2 separate regions of the Homo sapiens genome follow, and region 1 is linked to region 2. The links are contacts of gene promoters, found by promoter capture Hi-C in blood cells and fetal thymus (Javierre and others, 2016). All regions are on one chromosome and are shown on one strand. The core of a region is centred on a gene start or on the middle of the fragment in contact, and the rest is flanking DNA. Distances in the headings are between cores, read along the strand shown.

What was found. Contacts are between HindIII fragments. The CHiCAGO score rates a contact against its expected background, and 5 or more counts as called.
Region 1: a fragment that was not itself captured here is called in contact with the fragment with the promoter of IFIT1 in region 2 in 1 of 17 cell types (M2 macrophages); the score reaches 5.0 in M2 macrophages.

Annotation. Positions count from the first base shown.
Region 1 is chr10:89,014,381-89,020,870 of GRCh38, reverse strand. It overlaps FAS (Fas cell surface death receptor), which reads right to left. Exons shown (of 9, transcript NM_000043.6): 9 at 3,812-6,490. The coding sequence ends at 6,421. Among named protein-coding and RNA genes, the nearest start is that of FAS-AS1, 25 kb to the right of the region's middle. The HindIII fragment of the contact is 3,040 bases long and covers 471-3,510 here.
Region 2 is chr10:89,386,918-89,394,139 of GRCh38, reverse strand. It overlaps IFIT1 (interferon induced protein with tetratricopeptide repeats 1), which reads right to left and starts at 1,517. Exons shown (of 2, transcript NM_001548.5): 1 at 1,423-1,517. The coding sequence starts at 1,427. It also overlaps a transcript of LIPA not described here. RefSeq lists enhancers at 788-837, 1,639-1,688, 1,919-1,968 and a silencer at 2,521-2,682. The HindIII fragment of the contact is 1,915 bases long and covers 1,203-3,117 here.

The DNA of each region.
Region 1 (6,490 bases), core at 741-3,240, 370 kb after region 2:
AATAGCAATGATACATAGAACGTCTCTAAAGGAAAATAAAAAGGCATAGCCAAGCTCAAAAATAAGATCAATCCTTTCATGGTATAAGAATGGAAACAACTACAAGATGATGACTTGTGCACAACAAGCCAAAGCTTAGTTGGATCAATGCTTGGAAGCAAAGCAAAGCCTGCTTTTAGGTTTGGTACGGAATAAATGTGCCCCACCTGAGGCAGAACAGGAACCAGGCTCCCTTCTTAAAACCACGGGCTGATGTAGAACTGTTGCAGTCTTGCCAGTGCACCACAATGTTTCAGTCTTGTTGTCTGAGGTAGTACCTGGAGTTCTTTGTCTCATGACCAAGAAAATTAAGGAGCCTGGACACAAGGGTGAGGTTGGAGTAAAAGTTTAATAATTGAAAGAAGAAAGCTCTCCGCAGCAAAGAGGAGGCTGAAAGAGGGTTGCCACTTTTACAGTTGAATCCAAAAGCTTTTATAAGAAAAAACTCCTTTCATCTCTGTAGCTGTTTGTGTAACTTCCCTTAACTGTGTAGTAGCTGTCTGTGTAACTCTCCTTACCTGTGCAGCTGCAGGTATGTCTTAGGTAAGCACAAAGTACAGCTTCTCTTGTTTATGAAACTGTGGGTATGTTTTAGGTAAGCCCCTCTCCCTGTGCAAGTTCCCATGGAGCCCATCATGTACATGTCTGAAAAGGGGAGGAAACTTTTTCCTGGGAGCCCGCTGATTATCCAAAGAACAAAGGCTTCTTTGTTAGGCCTTGCTCCCTTATCTCTGCAGCTAAAGCTAAATTTTTCCCCAGGCTGCTCTATCTGTGCCTGTAGCTTTGATTTTTTCAGGCTATTTCTCTGTTTGAAGGAGTTTTACCAAGGACCCCTCCTAACTGTCTGCCTAACCAGTTTCTTTTCCTTCTTCTCTCTCTGAACTTTCTGTCTTGTGGAAGACAGCTAAGACAGAGCTACTAAGACAGACCTACTGCCAAACACTCCCTGGGACTGTGGCTTCTAGGAAGCTACAGGCCTAAGGGTCTGAGAAGATTCGGCACAGCCTATGACCAGTGGCTGAGCCAAGCTGCCCCCAAATGCATGACTGAATCTGTGATAGTCCTGATATCACCATGATGTATGAGCCTCAAGATTATCTCAGTAAATCTTGGCTCAGAACTGGGGACTCTGGAAGAACTGGCAAAAGAACACACAGAACTATTAAATATGGAGAGATGAGTGCAGAGAGAAAAAAATGGGCTATTCAAGATAAGCCTACAAATTTCAAAAATTCATAAGGAAAATCACATGAGGAAAGCCAGCCTACAAGGTCAGCATGAAATCACTGCAGTTAAAATTAAAATAATAGAGCAACTCTAAAAAAGACTCTAAAATAACTCAGTAGGATCTTCAAGAAGGTAAATAATGGAATAAGTTATATTAAACTATGATAAATTGTCAATGAAATAAAGAAAGTGCGTTGAGCCTCAGAGAACTAAAGGGTGTGGGGTGGGGTCGGAAGTGTCTAGAGGATATACCTAAGCCCAGGCCCCACAAAGTTGTCTCTCCCCAGTGGCTGGGGTTCCCTGCCTAGGGACTGGGGAAGGAGAGGTCTAATCTTTTCAATGAAGTGATAACATTAGAGTTATGACAATAGGAGCCAGAAGCAAGGCCAGCCCTGAGCTCTCCATTCTCATGTGTTTCAGGTGGAACAAGAGAAACTGGTCCAGGCCAGGCCCCAGCCTCCTAGTGAGAGGTGACAGTGTGCTGGCAGCCCTCACAGCCCTTGCTCGCTCTCAGCACCTCCTCAGCCTTGGCGCCCACTCTGGCTGTGCTTGAGGAGCCCTTCAGCCCGCTGCTGCACTGTGGGAGCCCCTTTCTGGGCTGGCGAAGGTCGGAGCCGGCTCCCTCAGCTTGCAGGGAGGTGTGGAGGGAGAGGCATGGGCGGGAACCGGGGCTGCACATGGTGCTTGTGGGCCAGCATGAGTTCCAGGTGGGCGTGGGCTCAGCAGACCCTGCACTGGGAGCGGCCAGCCAGCCCCGCCGGCCCTGGGGCAGTGAGGGGCTTAGCACCTGGGCCAGCAGCTGCTGTGCTTGACTTCTCACCAGGCCTTAGCTGCCTCCCCATGGGGCAGGGCTCGGGACCTGCAGCCCACCATGCCCAAGCCTCCCCAACGATCACCGCCCCCTGCTCTAAGGCTCCCAGTCGCATTGACCATCCAAGGGCTGAGGAGTGCGGGAGCATGGCGCGGGACTGGCAGGCAGCTCCACCTGCAGCCCCGGTGCAGGATCCACGGGGTGAAGCCAGCTGGGCTTCTGAGTCTGGTAGGGACTTAGGGAACCTTTATGTCTAGCTAAGGGATTGTAAATACACCAATCGGCACTCTGTATCTAGCTCAAGGTTTGTAAACACACCAATCATCACCCTGTGTCTAGCTCAGGGTTTGTGAATGCACCAATCGACACTCTGTATCTAGCTACTCTGGTGGTGACTTGGAGAACCTTTGTGTTGATACTCTGTATCTAGCTGATCTAGTGGGGACGTTGAGAACTTTTGTGTCTAGCTCAGGGATTGTAAACGCACCAGTCAGCACCCTGTCAAAACGCACCAATCAGCTCTCTGTAAAATGGACCAATCGGCTCTCTGTAAAATGGACCAATCAGCAGGATGTGGGTGGGGCCAGATAACAAAATAAAAGCAGGCTGCCAGAGCCAGCAGTGGCAACTGGCCCGGGTCCCCTTCCATAGGGTGGAAGTTTTGTTCTTTCACTCTTTTCAATAAATTTTGCTGCTGCTCACTCTTTAGGTCTACACTGCCTTCATGAGCTGTAACACTCACTGCGAAAGTTTGCAGCTTAACTCCTGAAGCCAGCGAGACCATGAACCCACCGGGAGGAACGAACAACTCCAGACGGGCCGCCTTAAGAGCTGTAATGCTCACCGCGAAGGTCTGTAGCTTCACTCCTGAGCCAGCGAGACCACAAACCCACCAGAAGGAAGAAACTCTGAACACATCCGAACATCAGAAGGAATGAACTCCGGACACGCTGCCTTTAAGAACTGTAACACTCACCGTGAGGGTCCGCGGCTTCATTCTTGAAGTCAGTGAGACCAAGAACCCACCAATTCCGGACACACTAGGGCTCAGCGAGGGCAGAAGGAGGAAGGGACAGATCCAGGCACTGATCCCTTCTGCCTGCTCTGTGGGCACCTCTGCTGTACTAATAAAGTCTGTCTGCACTGCAAGAAGAAAAAAAAAAAGAGAGAAAAGGGAAAGAAGAAAGAAAATTAAAAAAAGCAGGAATGAAACATATACAAGTAAAAATGTAAAAGGAACAATAAGAAACATTAAGAATGAAAAATATAGAAAACAAAATACATACCTCAGTGGATAGACTATTCTAGCCGGGCTTAGTAAAAACTAACAGTTAATTTAAAAAGAGTAATGAGAAATTTCCTAAAATGCAACATACGGAGACAATTATTGTTTTAAAAAAAATTAAGAGACCTAGAAAATAACTCAAGAAGCTTCAACAAATAATAACAACAGTTTCAGAAGAAGAGAATGAGAATGGTAAAGAAACACTATTTAAAGAGAAAATAGCTGGGATTTTTTCCAGAAATGATGAAAGCCCTGCCTTTCTAATTAAATCTTATTAAATAGATTAAGTAAAAATAAATACACATTGAAAGTCATTGTTGTGAAACTGCAGAACACATAGGAAAGTAGTAGGGGAAGCTTTAAAAATTACCAGAGGAAAAAAAATTACAGATTACCTACAAAGGAATGATATTTACACCAAGAGCAGACATAATCAACAGCAACAGATGTTAAGAAAACATGGTTTAATATTTTTAAAGTGCTGAGGAAAATTACAAATGGCCTTGTATAGAATTCTAAACCCAAACAAATTACCAATCAGGAGTAAGCATAGAAAAAAATTCTAAATTTCATTGATTATATACCTTATTCAGATAGTTGTACAGAAACTGATGATTCAATATCTAAAAAGTGTCTGATCTAATCAGAGGTCAGAAGACCCTGTGGGCATGCCAATAAAGAAGACCAAGATGTTTGAATATGCAATGCTTTCAATGTGATCTGTGAGCTCCTTCTGCAAATAGCCTTTTTTTCTGCAGCTCATGGGTGACCTTTGGGTGATTCTCCTACCCAGTATGCCCACCACAAAGAGAACCAGGTTCACCAGAATGAGGATGATTCTGGACCGTGGGGTCACCTCAACTCGGGAATGTGGCTGTGCTCATTGACATGGGAGAAGTCATGCTTGGGGCCACTAGGTGAAGCCATGAGGAAAAAAACCACATCACCAAGTACAAAGACTTCTCCACTGTCTTCCTCCCAAAGGAACTCAAAGTTCTTGCTCTGAGTTCACCAAAGTGGAATAGGGTGTTCTCTAACTTAATCTTGTCTTGCAAAGTAGAACTTGCACTTCTGGCCATGAAGAATAACTAGTACCTAACTTGCCCTACTTCTGTCTAGAAATAGAAAACTGGAGAGCAGACAGCACAGACTATGATGGCTCAGAAAAGAGAAATTAATGAGTGAACCCTGTGATCACTCAGACTTTCTGCCTAAAGACACTTTCCAGACCATAACACAGGAGGGAACCCTAAGCAAAGCACAACTATCTTACCGACATGCTTACATGTTGAAATGCTAATACTTTGGGACTCATGGGTTAAATAGAATATATTACTAGCATTAAATTGCAGAAAAGAAAGGTGGCCCACTGGCCAGCATGTAGCTAGAATGGATAATATGCAGGAAAGAATATTTCAAAATCCTCATTTGGCTTTCTTAATAATAAAACCTACCCCTTGAAATGTATACTTTCTTATCCACATTCCAGTATCTGGAATACGAAACTGTTTGACGAATAATCATGTGCTGTTTGGAAGAGGTCTTCTTGGCAATAGCAACCTATGGAAATAATTATTTAACTACTAAAAGGGTTAAGGTTAAAAAGGAAGTACCTTCTAAGGGATCCAAGAAGCATTAAAGACAAGTTATATTTAGCATCAGTTAGAGAAAAGGAAGACAAAACCAAAAAGCAAGCCCCTACCAAAAAAGAGAAAACCAGAAATACCAAAAACATTATTTAATTACGTACTTTTACCTATATTTTATAATTCCAAACACAAGGGGCAAAAAAATCCTCCATAAATGGAAGTTCTTTAGGTGGTTCCAGGTATCTGCTTCAGTTTATAACTATCTTCACAGTTTACATTTACAGAAATATAAATATTATTTCTTAAAATTCACATTTAATACAAACTTTCAAAGATATTTAAACGTAGGATAGTAGTAAGGAGAATCTTAAATCTTAGAAACTTGGGGGTATGACAAGAGCAATTCCTAAATCCAGATGATGATTTTACCATTGCTATGTATAAGCTGCCATTTGTAGCAGGTTTTACATGGGACATTATTGAACATTTTCGGGGGTGGGGGAAAAATAAGAATCTATTTTATCATCTTTGATTGCAAACATGGGTTCATGACATGTCACAAAGCTACTTTCTCTGAGAGCAGTTAGTATCTCCAAACCAGGCTAGAATTTCTAAGGGCAGTCTTGCCTTTTGGTGGACTATTAAGTATTTTTTGGTGATATTTCCATGTTTGGGGGTGCATTAGGCCATTAAGATGAGCACCAAGGCAAAAATGGAGAGGTGGCAAAGCTCTAGTAATACTCTCCTGCTCAAAATGCTTTTGATGCCTGAGAAAGAAGTAGGTAGTTTTGAGCCAGTAAAATGCATACACATATATAATAGTCAAACATTATAATTTAATGTTTTCTATGTGAATTCACAATTGAAATATTGTATAATATGACACCAATAAACTGTGCAAAGGTCTTTGAGGTAGAGCCTTATTTAAATTCTGCACTCAAATACATATACTTTACATAAATATGATCTTCTCAGAGTTATAAACAAAGTTTAGAAATATGGTAAAATCTCTAGAATTATCAGAGGTAATTTAGAGGCAAAGTGGCCTGCCTGTTCAGTAACTGATATTTCAGCAAAAGGTCATAGCTTCTTCTATTGATTCATAGAGTGGGGTTAGCCTGTGGATAGACATTTGTACTAACATACACTGATTACATTCATACTACAGAATCATATGTTAGATGCCAGAGCATAATCTTAATCTTTCATCCTCTGCATACACTCCTATTTGGGTACTTAGCATGCCACTGCATTTACTCTTGATGAAGTTTGTTTTCCCAACTAGATTTTAAACATCCTTGGAGGCAGAATCATGAGATATTAAAAATCTACAAATATGTTGGCTCTTCAGCGCTAATAAATGATAAAATGTACCCAGTAAAAAACCAAGCAGTATTTACAGCCAGCTATTAAGAATCTTTTCAAACACTAATTGCATATACTCAGAACTGAATTTGTTGTTTTTCACTCTAGACCAAGCTTTGGATTTCATTTCTGAAGTTTGAATTTTCTGAGTCACTAGTAATGTCCTTGAGGATG
Region 2 (7,222 bases), core at 268-2,767:
GTAGTAGGCTATACCGTCTAGGTTTGATGTTTGCATAATGATGAAATTGCCTAACAGCTGCATTTCTCAGAGTGTATCCCCATTGTTACACGATGCATGACTGTGTAAGTACCTGCCTTATAAGTATCTTTTGAGAATTAAATGGAATAATTTACATAACACTTTTAGAAGCCAGGCTGTCACTTAATACGAATTCAAGAAGTGATAACTACCTTTATAACATTTAATATTATTATTATTTTAATTATCAGTACCAACTCCATCTGTTTACAGAGGAGGGTTCATCATAGGCCTGTAATGTGCATTTTCTGGAATTTTTACCTCTTCAAAATTTTGCCAACTGGAGCACTGAGGGGAAAATTTACAAATCAGTATTAAGTAATGGATTTTTTGTTTGTTTGTTTGTTTTTGAGACGGAGTCTCGCTCTGTTGCCCAGGCTGGAGTGCAGTGGTACAATCTCAGCTCACTGCAACTTACGCCTCCCAGGTTCAAGTGATTCTCCTGCCTCAGCCTCCCAAGTAGCTGGGACTACAGGCATGTGCCACCATGCCCAAATTTTTGTATTTTTAGTAGAGATGGGGTTTCACCATGTTGGCCAGGATGGGCTCCAACTCCTGACCTCAGGCGATCTGCTCACCTTGGCCTCCCAAAGTGCTGGGATTACAAGCATGAGCCCCCTTGCCCGGCCTAAGTAATGGTTTTTAAATCAGCTGAGAAATTCCCACATTAGGCCCTTTAGGTAAGGAAGATACGGATCTTCCCAAGCAGATGTGGATCATCTTCAGTCAAGGACGTACCAAGAGCCTAGATTTTCCAGGGAGGAGGCAATCTGTTTATCTTAAGCTCAGCCTGATTGCGAAAACCTGTTGTAAGAGGCCAGCAGTGCAGAAAGTGAGACCAGAAGCCTATGGAGGAAGGCTGTGAGCTTTTCCTACCACATCTCCACTGTATTACCCACAAGACATCAGAGAGGCTGCAAGACTGAGGCTTTCACATTCTTGTGGGTCCTGCTTTTTCTCTGTGGTAAAGAACCTGCAGAAAGCAATGCCTCTACTCAGACAAGCTGTCCATTCCTTCCCCATATCAGACAGAAGTGAATCTGATGGGAAAGAATCTCTCAGATTGGGATCATTTTCTCCCTTCCTGCAAAACTCTTTTCCCATTTCCCTCCCCTTCTTTGGGCTATAGCATGAGGTAAGCTTCCTCAAGTTCATGCTAACAAACATAAAAATGCATTAAACAATTTATGTATGTGTGAACGTGCACACACATGCATGCACACATTCAGTCCATAAGCAGATACTCAAATCGAGGAATTAGAAAACCTGACCTCACTGAGATCTAACCTGTTGAAATAGTATTTAATTACCATTTTTTCAAAAACTTTAGACATTATGGCAGAGGAGCAAAGAAATCCTTACCTCATGGTTGCTGTAAATTAGGCAGCCGTTCTGCAGGGTTTTGCTTAGCCAGGCTCCTCTGAGATCTGGCTATTCTGTCTTGTGGATTTTCAGTTACGTTTAAACCCCAAGACAGTGTTATATAAGGGAGCTAAACAGCAGCCAATGGTGTAAGCTGTGGGTGTGTCCTTGCAAGTTGGAAACCTAGGGAAACCGAAAGGGGAAAGTGAAACTAAAGCTAGCGGAATTCCTGCTGACGGGGGGGGGTGGGGAATGAAACTTTGTTTCTATTTTAAAACAGATAAACTGCAGACCTGCAACCATAGATGTTTCTAGTGCTGCAGAAACCCAATGACTGGCCAGCATTTGGAACGAGATTCACGTCCTCCCTAAAGAACATCAGTCCATTGCTGCCTATTGTGGCAGTTGGTGGCTGGATTCTGGATGAATACACAGAAAAAGGAGAATTGAAGGAGATAGCTCTATTTTCAGTTTCTATATTTAGAAGGAACCTACTATCAAATATAAAAATCTACTCTTAATTAATTGAGTAACAAGGCTTTTGGTTGCTGGTTGCTTTTTGGTTGCTTACTTTTGGTTTCAGCTTGACGGAAATAAGCAACCAATCTGGTTTAGGAATGAAGGAAAGAGACCAATACCTAGAAAGCCTTCTAACCCCTGATGACTTAGGCAGGAGGTAAAAGCAAGGAGGTATGGTTTGAAATAGAGAGCCCTCTATTGCTCCATCATGGACACTGTCATTCTGAATCAAATTCCAGTACAACCTCCACTACAGTTCATGGAATTTGAGTTTAAATAGTTAGCAACTACCTGGCACATAGAAGCATGCAAATAAGTGGTAACTATTATTATTATTATTTTCAGTCATCAAGTTAAAAATAATGATTCTTGGCTGGGTGCGGTGGCTCATGCCTGTAGTCCCAGCACTTTGGGAGGCCAAGGTGGGCGGATGACAAGGTCAGGAGATGGAGACCATCGTGGCCAACATGGTGAAACCCCCTCTCTACTAAAATACAAAAAATTAGCTGGGTGTGGTGGTGTGCACCTGTAGTCCCACCTACTCGAGAGGCTGAGGCAGGGGAATTGCTTGAACCTGGGAGGCAGAGGTTGCAGTGAGCCGAGATCACACCACTGTACTCCAGTCTGGTGACAGAGCGAGACTCCGTCTAAAAAAATAAATAAATAAAAAATAAAAAATTGTTGTCCGGGTGCATTGGCTCAGGCCTGTAAGTCCCAGTATTTTGGAAGGCAAGGCGGGAGGATCACTTGAGCCCAGGAATTGTAGACCAGCCTGGACAACATAGGGAGACCCCAACTCTACAAAAAAACTGAAAAAAAAAGCTGGGTGTGGTGGTGTGTGTCTGTGGTCTCAGCTACTCAGGAGGCTGAGGTGGGAGGCTCACTTGAGCCCAGGAGGTAGAGGCTGCAGTGAGCCATGGTCACACCACTGCACTCCAGCCTGGGCAACAGAGTGAGCCCCTGTCTCAAATAATCATAACAATATATAAAAACAATGTTTCCTTTAAAAAAACCTACCTACTTTGTCTTTTAACATAAGAAGCAGAAGAGGAGCAGGTGCAAGAGTATTTTCCTTTTGGAAACACTTAACTGGGCACACTGCCAGATCTAAACAGTTTCTGCTCAACTCCCTGCCAGACTCATCTCCCATGTCAGCTCTCACCAATTCTGTAAGCTTCCACAGAGAGTTCAACAACTAGTTAGAAAGTTCTACACAAATAAGAATTTCTGAATTAATAGGACAGGTTTTGTCTTGCACTCAGATACATGATCAGGCCATAAGCAAATGCTGAAACAGATGAATTAGAAAACATCTTTTGGGGAGCAAGATGTCTTTGGAATTCTTATGGGAAAAAATGGGTTTTCAATTTGCCAATGCACTAGATAGCATGCAGAGATATGAACAAAAAGTTTATCTTGCCATTGCTGTGAATTTGGCAGCAGTCTTGGTTCTACGGGGCTATGGCCCAGGCTGATTAGGTATTCAGAATCTTGCTTAGTGTCTCTTTGGGCTAAACAAACCCATGAGGGACACAGGATAGAACAGCATTAAGGAAAGAAAAGCCAATCGCGCGCGTGTGTGTGTGTGTTTACAGATAAAAAAGAAAATGGGAACCAGAGAGGATCAAACATTTAGAAAATGAAATTTCAGCACTAGGTTGTGAGTTCATTCCCAGGAGTCTAAGCTGGGCTCTGCAAGGGACTGACCAGTTATGATAAACTGCTTCACCTCTATGAATCTCAATTTCCTCAGCTGAGAAGTCATTTGGAATAGGTTGGCAGATCTCAACCCTCACTGCACATTAGAATCAGCCAGGTAAATCTCAAAAATAATGCTAACTATGCCCATTCCAGAACAATTGAACATATACTTAGGTACAGGCCTCTGGCTCAGTATTAAAAAGAAATCTTCAGCCTGGGCACAGTGGCTCACGCCTGTAATCCCAGCATTTTGGGAGGACAAGACGGGCGGATCACCTGAGGTTGGGAGTTCGAGACCAGCCTGACTAACATGGAGAAACCCCGTCTCTACTAAAAATACATAATTAGCCGGGCGTGGTGGCACATGCCTGTAATCCCAGCTACTCGGGAGGCTGAGGCAGGAGAATCGCTTGAACCCGGGAGGTGGAGGTTGTGGTGAGCCGAGATCGTGCCATTTCATTGCACTCCAGCCTGGGCAACAAGAGTGAAACTCCATCTCAAAAAAAAAAAAAAAAAAAAAAAGAAAGAAATCTTCAGGTGATTTTGATGTAGACCTGCGCCCTGAGCCGGGAACCAGGGCCTCAATTATCCCTAATGTCTATTGTATGTCTGAAATTCTCTGACTGAGAGATATGGGACTCAATCCCTGGACCCACTTCCTGTTCTGTGAGGCCCAGATTCAGTATTTTACGACTCAATGCCTTGTTTCCTCACCTACACAATGGGTAATGAATTCCTTAGTCTCTTCTTCATTCACAGGATGATATGGAAAAAGAATGTTATTCTGAGTGTATTTTTTAAAAATTATAATATGATAATATGGACAAATGCTAAGCCATTTCTGCTGAAGGGTCTCAAATATCCAATCACAACTTATTAAGGAATGGGCTCCATAGAAATTTCCCCTGTCTTTTCCAGGGTCATCTCTTGTAGTCTAAAATCTCTTATCAGCTTGCTAATGGCCAGGTAGAATAGGATCTAGTGATCTGGTTACCTAATGAAAAGCTGATTTCTTGTTAGAAACAAATTCAGCCCCTAGGTGGTACTACTTCCTTGGGCTTCTCTGTCTCCTCAGCAGTCCTTTCCATCAGTTTGTACTGCAGAAGTTGCTACTGTACTTGTTTTTTGGTAATCATAGTTAAATGAAGGCATTGTAGTGACATGAAAGACACACAAGATGCTTTCATGCTAGAATCATAAAAACCAAAGGCTTGACTGAATCGATCAATCCATTTCCATGTTCCTGCATCTTTGATTTTCCTCACGTTTTTCATTTAATTATAAAAGTCAGGTTTCTAGATATTTCTCTTTTTAATTTATAATTTAACATTTAACAATTGGAATATCTCTGCTAATTACATGTTATATACTCTTTTGAATGTATTCAATCACAAAGATATTTTTAGCTATAGCCTATTTTCTGAGGAATGTAATTCTCAGTGTTCTGACCACTGTATGAAAACTATTTTCTTGGCTTCTGAGATTTTTCCTAAACTACTTCCAGTCGCATCCATGGAGAGAGGACTTGGACTCCAGAAATTCTTCGTTGCAAATGATTTGATGATTTACATATCTTCTCATGAAACTTCAAGAGACCTCTCAGCCCATGATATCACTCAGCCCACCTTGACCCACAGTTTGGTTTACTGCAACCTATTCAAGTACTACTAGAATTTTTATTAGCTCATTTTTTTTTTTTTTTTACATTTCAGGCATATTTTGAAACAACTATAGACACAAGAAATTTCAGAAAAGATCCTGTGTACTTTTCATCCAAATTCCCCAAATAGTGACATCTTATATAGCTGTAGTACAATATTAAAACCAGGAAGATGACATGGATACTGTGTATATATTTTGAAGATAAAATATGACATGAATCTTACAAACCCAGGTACACTGGATTTTTTTACTTAACATAAAAAATCTTACGTACATATTTTTCCTCCCAAACTAAACATTCCTTTTCTAAGTGATGCCAGTTTAATTATTCATGTGATCTATTATATAATACACCAACAACCGTCTCTGAATAACAAAATTAACAAAACACCTCCAGAATGGTGCTAAGTAGAGTTTAAGAATTTTTTTCGGCCAGGCGCGGTGATTCACACCTGTAATCCCAGCACTGTGGGAGGCCAAGATGGGCGGATCACCTGAGGTCAGGGGTTCGAGACCATGCTGGCCAACATGGCAAAACCCTGTCTCTACTGAAAATACAAAAATTAGCTGGGTGTGGTGGCACCCACCTGTAATCCCAGCTACTCAGGAGGCGGAGGCAGGAGAATCACTTGAACCCAGGAGGCGGAGATTGCAGTGAGCTGAGATCATGCCACTGCACTCCAGCCTGGGTGACAGAGCGAGACACTGTCTCAAAAAAAAAAGAATTTTTTTCCATGTTAGTTTTGTTTATAAGCTATATCCTATTAAAAATGTAGAGTCAAATTACAGCGCACTTAAAAATCACTTGGAATCCTTCCTTCCTATGTGATTTTATCCACCATTCCCTACATATTTTGGATAATTTGTCTCAGTTTGCTGTACTTTTTAGATACTGCTATTTGCCCTTTTTATCCAAACATTTTATTATTATACATGGTCAAGCAGAGAGAAAAGTTGAGAGTATTTTACAATGAACACTTGTATAACTAGATTCTACAGTTAACATTTTACTATATTTACCTTATTACATATCTATTCATCCACTCATTTCTCTATCCACCCATCCATTTATTTTATATTTTCTTTTGCATAAAAGGGCCTTCAGTACAATTAATTGATAAAACATTTAGCTTACATATGTGGATTGCTTTTCTAAATATAAATTTGGTTTTATAATTAGGCAAAATATTGACATGGTTGCAAAAACAAACACAGAGAAGTCTGGCTCCTATTGCTGTCCCTTTCCTTTTCCTCTCTTTCTTATTGGTAACCATTACAAAATTTCATTTATCCATCCACTGTTTTCATTTTAATACAAGCAGGTAGATAAGTTTTATATACCCTCCAATTTTTTCTCTCTTCTTCGCTGGCCCATATTGCATGTAGAAGCCACTGATAAAAGCAGCACTTTAGATGATATTCAGCCAATGAATCCATAATTGTTTATTGATTCCCTCTTATGTTCCCAGGGTATGGTGAATTGATGTTGTTAAAATAGATTTTTTTTTTTTTTTTTTTGAGACGGAGTCTTGCTCTGTCACCCAGACTGGAGTACAGTGGCGGGATCTCTCGGCTCACTGCAAGCTCCACCTCCTGGGTTCACGCCATTGTCCTGCCTCAGCCTCCCGAGTAGCTGGGACTATAGGCGCCCGCCACCACGCCCGGCTAATTTTTTGTATTTTTAGTAGAGGCGGGGTTTCACTGTGTTAGCCAGGATGGTCTCGATCTCCTGACCCCATGATCTGCCCACCTCGGCCTCCCAAAGTGCTGGGATTACAGGCGTGAGCCACGGCGCCCAGCCTAAAATAGTTTTAAGACTTACTTGGTGCTTATCCAAACACACACACACTCTCTCTCTCTCTCACACACACACACACACACACACACACTCATATACCCACAGACTCATAAACTCTAT